2 separate regions of the Homo sapiens genome follow, and region 1 is linked to region 2. The links are contacts of gene promoters, found by promoter capture Hi-C in blood cells and fetal thymus (Javierre and others, 2016). All regions are on one chromosome and are shown on one strand. The core of a region is centred on a gene start or on the middle of the fragment in contact, and the rest is flanking DNA. Distances in the headings are between cores, read along the strand shown.

Region 1 (4,469 bases), core at 1,661-4,160, 270 kb before region 2:
GGCCGCGCTGCCTTAAGAGCTATAACACTCACCGCGAAGGTCTGCAGCTTCACTCCTCAGCCAGCGAGACCACGAACCCACCAGAAGGAAGAAACTGCGAACACATCTGAACATCAGAAGGAACAAACTCCAGATGCACCACCTTAAGAGCTGTAACACTCACTGCGAGGGTCCGCGGCTTCCTTCTTGAAGTCAGTGAGACCAAGCACTCACCAGTTTCGGACACAAGCCCAGGAGTTTGAGATCAGCCTGGGCAACATGATGAAATGCCCTCTCTGCAAAAAAAAAAAAATTACAAAAATTGGCGGAGCATGGTGGTCCGTGCCTGTGGTCCCAGCTACGCGGGAGGCTAAAGTGGGAGGATCGCTTGAGCCTGGGAGGTGAAGACTGCAGTGAGCTGTGATTGTACCACAGCCCTCTAGGCTGGGGGACAGACTGAGACCCTGTTTCCCCTCCGCAAAAAAATTGACAAAAGTGTAATAAGAGGTGCCTGATATGGCTAGGCGCAGTGGCTCATGCCTGTAATCCCAGCACTTTGGGAAGCCGAGGCGGGCGGGTCACCTAAGGTCAGGAGTGTGAGACCAGCCTGGCCAACATGGAGAAAGCCCATCTCTTCTAAAAATACAAAATTAGCCGGCTGTGGGGGCAGTGGTGGAGCATGCCTGTAATCCCAGCTACTCAGGAGGCTGAGGCAGGAGAATCACTTGAACCCAGGAGGCGGCGGTTGCAGTGAGCCGAGATCGTGCCATTGCACTCCACCCACTCCAGCCTGGGCAACAAGAGCCAAACTCTGTCTTAAAAAAAAAAAAAAAAAGTGCCTGACATATAAGAGGTGTGCAATGCAATAGTTGCCAGGCAACATGTTTAAGAATGTGGAGCTCCTGCCTTCCATGGTCCTGTTAAAAACCCACCCTCAAGGCCAGGTGCAGTGGCTCATGCCTATAATCCCAGCACTTTGGGAGGCCGAGGCGGGTGGATCACCTGAGGTCAGGAGTTCGAGACCAGCCTGACCACCAACATGGTGAAATCCCACCTCTACTAAAAATACAAAATTAGATGAGCATGGTGGTGCATGCCTGTAATCCCACCTACTTGGGAGGCTGAGGCAGGAAAATCACTAGAACCAGGGAGGCGGAGGTTGTAGTGAGCCGAGATCGTGCCATTGCACTCCAGCCTGAGCAATGAGCGAAACTCCATCTCAAAAAAACAACAACAAAAACCCACCCTCTACTCCCAGGGAGCTGGGTACAGAGCTGGGCCACATCAGTGCAAGGTGCTGAGCCACAGAGCTAAGGCGGAGCTGCAGGACCGCGGACCAGATAACAGTGTGTGAGATCAGTGTGTGAGATCAGACGTCCCTGCCATTGGTGACCACCAGGGGGCCCCCAAGCACCAGAGATGGCCCCATCCAGTCACCACATCCACTTCTCATCCAGAGATGTCTGTTTCTTGGCACGCTGGGGTAAATTAGGACAGAAGGTGACAGTCTTGGGTGTGGTCAGTCAGACTGCCCCAGGCAGGCCTTGTGGCCTGTAGAAAACGTTCAGGCCTAGGCCGGGCACGGTGGCTCACGCCTGTAATCCCAGCACTTTGGGAGGCCGAGGCGGGTGGATCACGAGGTCAGGAGATCGTGACCATCCTGGCTAACACGGTGAAACCCCGTCTCTACTAAAAATACAAAAAATTGGCCGGGCATGGTGGCGGGCACCTGTAGTTCCAGCTACTCGGGAGGCTGAGGCAGGAGAATGGCGTGAACCCGAGAGGCAGAGTTTGCAGTGAGCCGAGATCGCGCCACTGCACTCCAGCCTGGGCGACAGAGCAAGACTCCATCTGGAAAAGAAAAAGAAAACGTTCAGGTCTGAGCCAGAGGCCCAGGCTGTAATTCTGTCACTTACCATGACCTTGGGCAAGGCACTTCCTTCCCTGGCCCAGTTCACGGGGTTGGAATCGACTCCAAGGTCCCTTCCAGCATTAACGCTGCATGGTTCTAAGATGAGAAGATGGGGCAGTTTCCCCTCTCTCACCCCAGCCCGTGTCCACTTCAAGGTGAATGACCAGGGAAGTCACGTGTCCCAATCCCGCAGTTCCAAAGCCCTTGGGGACCCTACTGTCAGGGTCGTGCACGAGGAGGTGAAGGTCAGGTGAGCCAATCGCCTCGAAGGGTCTTGCCTCATTCGGGACAGACATCCGGTTTCCTCTGGCTCTACCGGGATTCTAGGGGCTTTAGCCGAATGAGTCATGGGGGGCGGGGGGGTTTCTGGGGGAGTTCCCAGCTAATCAACTTGGGACAGGACAGCCTGGAACTTTCGATGGTGCCTATCCAAGTGTGGGGTGGGCACAGCAGCCAAGACCCAATGTCCTTATCTCAGGTAGGGGCTCAGGAGGTCTCCCAGACAGGCAGCCTCCGGAGAGTTTGGGGGTAGGAATGGGAGCAACCAGCTTCTTTTTTTCTCTCTTAGAATTTGGGGGCTTGGGGGACAGGCTTGAGAATCCCAAAGGAGAGGGGCAAAGGACACTGCCCCCGCAAGTCTGCCAGAGCAGAGAGGGAGACCCCGACTCAGCTGCCACTTCCCCACAGGCTGCTGCCGCTTCCAGGCGTCTATCAGCGGCTCAGCCTTTGTTCAGCTGTTCTGTTCAAACACTCTGGGGCCATTCAGGCCTGGGTGGGGCAGCGGGAGGAAGGGAGTTTGAGGGGGGCAAGGCGACGTCAAAGGAGGATCAGAGATTCCACAATTTCACAAAACTTTCGCAAACAGCTTTTTGTTCCAACCCCCCTGCATTGTCTTGGACACCAAATTTGCATAAATCCTGGGAAGTTATTACTAAGCCTTAGTCGTGGCCCCAGGTAATTTCCTCCCAGGCCTCCATGGGGTTATGTATAAAGGCCCCCCTAGAGCTGGGCCCCAAAACAGCCCGGAGCCTGCAGCCCAGCCCCACCCAGACCCATGGCTGGACCTGCCACCCAGAGCCCCATGAAGCTGATGGGTGAGTGTCTTGGCCCAGGATGGGAGAGCCGCCTGCCCTGGCATGGGAGGGAGGCTGGTGTGACAGAGGGGCTGGGGATCCCCGTTCTGGGAATGGGGATTAAAGGCACCCAGTGTCCCCGAGAGGGCCTCAGGTGGTAGGGAACAGCATGTCTCCTGAGCCCGCTCTGTCCCCAGCCCTGCAGCTGCTGCTGTGGCACAGTGCACTCTGGACAGTGCAGGAAGCCACCCCCCTGGGCCCTGCCAGCTCCCTGCCCCAGAGCTTCCTGCTCAAGTGCTTAGAGCAAGTGAGGAAGATCCAGGGCGATGGCGCAGCGCTCCAGGAGAAGCTGGTGAGTGAGGTGGGTGAGAGGGCTGTGGAGGGAAGCCCGGTGGGGAGAGCTAAGGGGGATGGAACTGCAGGGCCAACATCCTCTGGAAGGGACGTGGGAGAATATTAGGAGCAGTGGAGCTGGGGAAGGCTGGGAAGGGACTTGGGGAGGAGGACCTTGGTGGGGACAGTGCTCGGGAGGGCTGGCTGGGATGGGAGTGGAGGCATTACATTCAGGAGAAAGGGCAAGGGCCCCTGTGAGATCAGAGAGTGGGGGTGCAGGGCAGAGAGGAACTGAACAGCCTGGCAGGACATGGAGGGAGGGGAAAGACCAGAGAGTCGGGGAGGACCCGGGAAGGAGCGGCGACCCGGCCATGGCGAGTCTCACTCAGCATCCTTCCATCCCCAGTGTGCCACCTACAAGCTGTGCCACCCCGAGGAGCTGGTGCTGCTCGGACACTCTCTGGGCATCCCCTGGGCTCCCCTGAGCAGCTGCCCCAGCCAGGCCCTGCAGCTGGTGAGTGTCAGGAAAGGATAAGGCTAATGAGGAGGGGGAAGGAGAGGAGGAACACCCATGGGCTCCCCCATGTCTCCAGGTTCCAAGCTGGGGGCCTGACGTATCTCAGGCAGCACCCCCTAACTCTTCCGCTCTGTCTCACAGGCAGGCTGCTTGAGCCAACTCCATAGCGGCCTTTTCCTCTACCAGGGGCTCCTGCAGGCCCTGGAAGGGATCTCCCCCGAGTTGGGTCCCACCTTGGACACACTGCAGCTGGACGTCGCCGACTTTGCCACCACCATCTGGCAGCAGGTGAGCCTTGTTGGGCAGGGTGGCCAAGGTCGTGCTGGCATTCTGGGCACCACAGCCAGGCCTGTGTATGGGCCCTGTCCATGCTGTCACCCCCAGCATTTCCTCATTTGTAATAACGCCCACTCAGAAGGGCCCAACCACTGATCACAGCTTTCCCCCACAGATGGAAGAACTGGGAATGGCCCCTGCCCTGCAGCCCACCCAGGGTGCCATGCCGGCCTTCGCCTCTGCTTTCCAGCGCCGGGCAGGAGGGGTCCTGGTTGCCTCCCATCTGCAGAGCTTCCTGGAGGTGTCGTACCGCGTTCTACGCCACCTTGCCCAGCCCTGAGCCAAGCCCTCCCCATCCCATGTATTTATCTCTATTTAA
Region 2 (4,659 bases), core at 751-3,250:
CGCACCCAGCCATTTCCTGGTGTTTTCATAGGTTCCAATATGCATGCTAAGTACTCATAGCTTCCTAGGTTGTTTACCATAACCACCCCTTACAGCTGGCTGGGCACACATTACCATTTCAGGTTATTAAGGGCAATTCTTAGGTGCCCATGTTATAAAAATACGAACAGTGAAGGTTGCTTCCTGAGTTCTACTATCCTACTAAGACATCAGAAATACCATCTAGTCCTTTTAAAAGCTTCCACTGTGGCCAAGAGCGGTGGTTCATGCCTGTAATCCCAGCACTGTGGGAGGCTGAGGTGGGTGGATCATGAAGTCAGGAGTTTGAGACCAACCTGGCCAACATGGTGAAACCCCTCTACTAAAAATTCAAATATTAGCCAGGCGTGGTGACGCGTGCCTGTAGTCCCGGCTACTCAGGAGGCTGAGGCAGGAGAATGGCTTGAACCCAGGTGGTGGAGATTGCAGTGAGCCGAGATCATGGCACGGCACTCAAGCCTGGGTGATAAAATGAGACTTGTCTCAAAAATAAAAAAAAAAAAAGCTTCCATTGTGTGGTAACTTTCTCCATTCATGGCAGCCCATTCTCTTCACTTTTGTAGTTTTCAGCTGCTAAAAAGCCTTCACGAAATGTACTCCACCATCTCTTCCTGTTTAGAACCTGAATCTGTCTAATCATCCCCCTATGATAAAGTGGTCAAGAGTTTGATTTTCTGTCAGAGTTCAGAGTTCAAATTCTAGCTCTTCCACTTACTAGTTGTGTGACCTTGGGCAAGTTTACTCAACTCCCCTCTACTGTAGTTCCCTCATTTGTAAAGTGAAATAACACCAGGTTCATGGGGGTGCTTGTGAAGATTAATAAGGTGATGTAGGTAAAATACTGAGCACAGCCCCTGGCATACACTTAAGCACTCAATATTGGCTCTCTTCATGAACTAGGTACCAATTCACTGATGATCGTAATATTGTTGCTTCCCTCTTTCTAGGCTTTATGGCTCTATTTTGTTTGTTACTGAGGGGTAAAAGATAAATGTTTACCATCACCTAGAATTGGGTTCTGGCCTCTAAAGGAACCTGAGGCTTAGATGAATTATTGGCTTTGGAAGCTGGCCTTCAAATTACTGCGCTAATTTATATTTTTCATTAAAAACTCAGCTTGCCTCTTCTATATAGCTGTCTTCCCTGGCCCTGAAACCCTAGTGTTTCGCCATAAAAGATTTTAAAATTAAGGGGTCATAATTCCCTCCCCATGATGTGTGGATTAATGGTAAGAAGATGCACAGAACATAATATTCTTAGGTTGAACGAAATAAAAGTAAAGAGTTGGCTCTGTTTCTCACCTTTGAAGCACAAATCAAGAGATACTATGATGAAGCATAGTTTTTCTTTATATAGGTGTGTAGAACTTTACCATAAAAATCACTAGTTCAGCCATCAGGAGATCTGGATCCTAGGCTCTTCACTGTCACCAAGATGCTGTGACCTCTAACCTTGTATAGAAGTTTGCTTTGTACTTTGCGAGGTTGAGCATTAGAGAGGTAAGGAAAGTGCCTAGCATCATACCTGGCGCACAGAACCCAAAACGGTAGGTATCATGTAGCAGTTCTGAAAATCTAGCCCATCAGGATGATGCAAATGGGTACTTTAGGCAGTGAGAAGGGGAACCACATCTTGACACTTCCAGTCGAAGGAAGAGTGCGACTGCGCGGCAGCAAAGACTACGCCTCCCAGCGTGCTTTGCGGCGGGCCGGCCCGCTTTACCCAGAGTCGCCCTGCCGCAATCGCGCGTCTTTCCACCGAGGCCCCGGATGTAGATTCCCTCCCCCGTTCAGTGGTCGTGGCCTCACAGCGACTCTAAGACTTGGGGCTCTCTCATTGGCTGTAACTCTTCCACTGGATTGGTAGCAAAAAAAGAGGCGGTGCCCAAGGCGAAAGGCTCTGTGACTACAGCCAATCAGAATCGAGGCCGGGCTTTGGCGGGAGGTGGGAACGCTGTGGCCATTCGGATTTGGCGCGAGCGCGGCTGGAGTTTGCTGCTGCCGCTGTGCAGTTTGTTCAGGGGCTTGTGGTGGTGAGTCCGAGAGGCTGCGTGTGAGAGACGTGAGAAGGATCCTGCACTGAGGAGGTGGAAAGAAGAGGATTGCTCGAGGAGGCCTGGGGTCTGTGAGGCAGCGGAGCTGGGTGAAGGCTGCGGGTTCCGGCGAGGCCTGAGGTGAAGTGAAGGGAAAAGAGCTGAGCTCGCTGGAGGTCTGAGGTCGGGATCAGGGAAAGGGCAGGTGCCCTCGGGGTAGTTCTAGCAGTTATGCGTGGTGTGAAGGAGGTGAAAGTTGTAGGAAGGAAATATTCTGGGGTGCGTTGAGAGCTGCCTAGAATGAGGACTGAGTGCAGGGGCGGAAAGAACTGAGGGAAGACTGAGCTGCAGTGTGAGGGCTTGGGATAGAAGAGACTAAATGTGGCGGGTGCTGGGCTGAACTGGTGATAAAGACACCCCGCGTGCCTGGAGGGAGGAAACTAGAAGTTCTATATAAATCAATTCATGTAACTTTTTTTTTTTTTTGAGACGGAGTCTCGCTCTTGTCGCCCAGGCTGTAGTGCAGTGGTGCGATCTCGGCTCACTGCAACCTCTGCCTGCCGGGTTCAAGCCATTCTCCTGCCTCAGCCTCTTCATGTAGCTGGGACTACAGGCGCCCGCCACCACGTCCGGCTAATTTTTTTTTTTTTTTTGAGACGGAGTCTCGCTCGGTCTCCCAGGCTGGAGTGCAGTGGCGCGATCTCGGCTCACTGCAAGCTCCGCCTCCCGGGTTCATGCCATTCTCCTGCCTCAGCCTCCCGAGTAGCTGGGACTACAGGCGCCCACCACCACGCCCGGCTAATTTTTTGCATTTTTAGTAGAGACGGGGTTTCACCGTGTTAGCCAGGATGGTCTCGGCCCGTCTCGGCCTCCCAAAGTGTTGGGATTACAGGCGTGAGCCACCGCGTTTGGCCGTAATTTTTGTATTTTTAGTAGAGACGGGGTTTCTCCATGTTGGTCAGGCTGGTCTCGAACTCCTGACCTCAGGTGATCCGCCCGCCTCAGCCTCCCAAAGTGCTGGGATTACAGGCGTGGGCCACCGCGCCCGGCCCATTTCAGGTAACTTGTTATTGCATCGCTCAATTGGTTAAGAACTTGGGCTCTGGCACCAGATGCCCGGGGTTACATTCCTGTTTTTCTGTGACTTTGGGCCACTGTTTATCTCAGTTTTCTCATGTGTAAAATAAAGGCTAATAATAGTACCTACTCCTAAGATCGTTGTTAAACGAGTTGGTACCTAAAGTGTTTATAACAGCGCCCTTCCACGTAGTAGGTAGACAACAAATGTCAGCTGTTCTTGCATAGATTTGGATGTGAAGCAAAAGTGAATGCTAAAATAAGTGTGATAACATAATTAGGAAATAAGTGTTAATCATCAGTATAAATAAATTCCATGTTAGTTATTTTCTCTTCACTTTCACATATTGACTAGTTGTCCTCTTATTTTTTTTAATCTAGCTGTGCTGTCGTCATGCCTCAAACCCGATCCCAGGCACAGGCTACAATCAGTTTTCCAAAAAGGAAGCTGTCTCGGGCATTGAACAAAGCTAAAAACTCCAGTGATGCCAAACTAGAACCAACAAATGTCCAAACCGTAACCTGTTCTCCTCGTGTAAAAGCCCTGCCTCTCAGCCCCAGGAAACGTCTGGGTAAACCATCCATTATATCACTTTTTCACTAGCAGCTCGTGACCTTTCTTTTCTTGGTAAGATGTGTGTCCTTTGAAGGAGCTTTCTAAGTTCAGTTAAGACTTCTTTTTTTTTTTTTTTTTTTTTTTGAGACAGAGTCTCGCTCCATCTCCCAGGCTGGAGTGCAATAGTGCGATCTTGGCTCACTGCAACCTCCGCCTCCTGGGTTCAAGCGATTCTCCTGCCTCAGCCTCCCAAGTAGCTGGGATTACAGGCGCCCACCACCAAGCCTGGCTAATTTTTTTTTTTTTTTTTTTTGGATTTTTAGTTGAGACAGGGTTTTGCCATATTGGCCAATCTGGTCTCTGAACTCCTGACCTCAGGTGATCCAACTGCCTCGGCCTCCCAAAGTGCTGGGATTATAGGCATGAGCTACCGCTCCTGGCCTAAGACTACTCTTCATTTTAGTTATTTTCAGAATGGTTGCTAAGTGCTTACCGAACTCCAGAGTTAGACACTTACTGAGGTCACTCTGAACTACTTAATAAGTCTGATCTTCAATTCCTTAATACTGAACTTAGTTCTGTCAATGTTTTAAGTTACCTTGTAGTTACATGGTATTATGAAACTTACCTCAATATTTGTGAAATTAAAAGAAACAAAAACGTGACATGATGAATATTTTCCATCCTTTAGGACAGTGATTGGTAATTCTTTCTTGTTTTGGAACATTTATTTTTAAATGGGGGGTAATTTGGTTGTTTCTGGAGACATTTTTGGTTGTTACAGCTGGGGGTTGCTACTGGCATAGTGGGTAGAGGCCAGGGATGCTGCTAGACATTACAATGCACAGGACAGCTCCTTGACAATGAAGAATTATTTGGTCCAAGATGTCAGTGGTGCCAAGGTTGAGAAAACCTGTTTCAAAATAGCCTTACAATTTCATCCTACTAAAACCCA

The links. Contacts are between HindIII fragments. The CHiCAGO score rates a contact against its expected background, and 5 or more counts as called.
Region 1: the fragment with the promoter of CSF3 here is called in contact with the fragment with the promoter of CDC6 in region 2 in 1 of 17 cell types (M0 macrophages); the score reaches 5.2 in M0 macrophages.

The regions. Positions count from the first base shown.
Region 1 is chr17:40,012,530-40,016,998 of GRCh38, forward strand. CSF3 (colony stimulating factor 3) reads left to right here and starts at 2,911. Exons shown (of 5, transcript NM_172219.3): 1 at 2,911-2,985; 2 at 3,162-3,316; 3 at 3,704-3,811; 4 at 3,956-4,102; 5 at 4,266-4,469. The coding sequence starts at 2,946. The coding sequence ends at 4,430. It overlaps PSMD3-AS1 (PSMD3 antisense RNA 1), which reads right to left and starts at 2,112. Exons shown (of 3, transcript NR_198981.1): 1 at 2,025-2,112; 2 at 1,709-1,830; 3 at 1-275. RefSeq lists an enhancer at 2,821-3,320. The HindIII fragment of the contact is 16,036 bases long and covers 1-4,469 here.
Region 2 is chr17:40,285,879-40,290,537 of GRCh38, forward strand. It overlaps CDC6 (cell division cycle 6), which reads left to right and starts at 2,001. Exons shown (of 12, transcript NM_001254.4): 1 at 2,001-2,212; 2 at 3,530-3,720. The coding sequence starts at 3,543. RefSeq lists enhancers at 1,761-2,568, 2,337-2,516, 2,547-2,616. The HindIII fragment of the contact is 8,752 bases long and covers 543-4,659 here.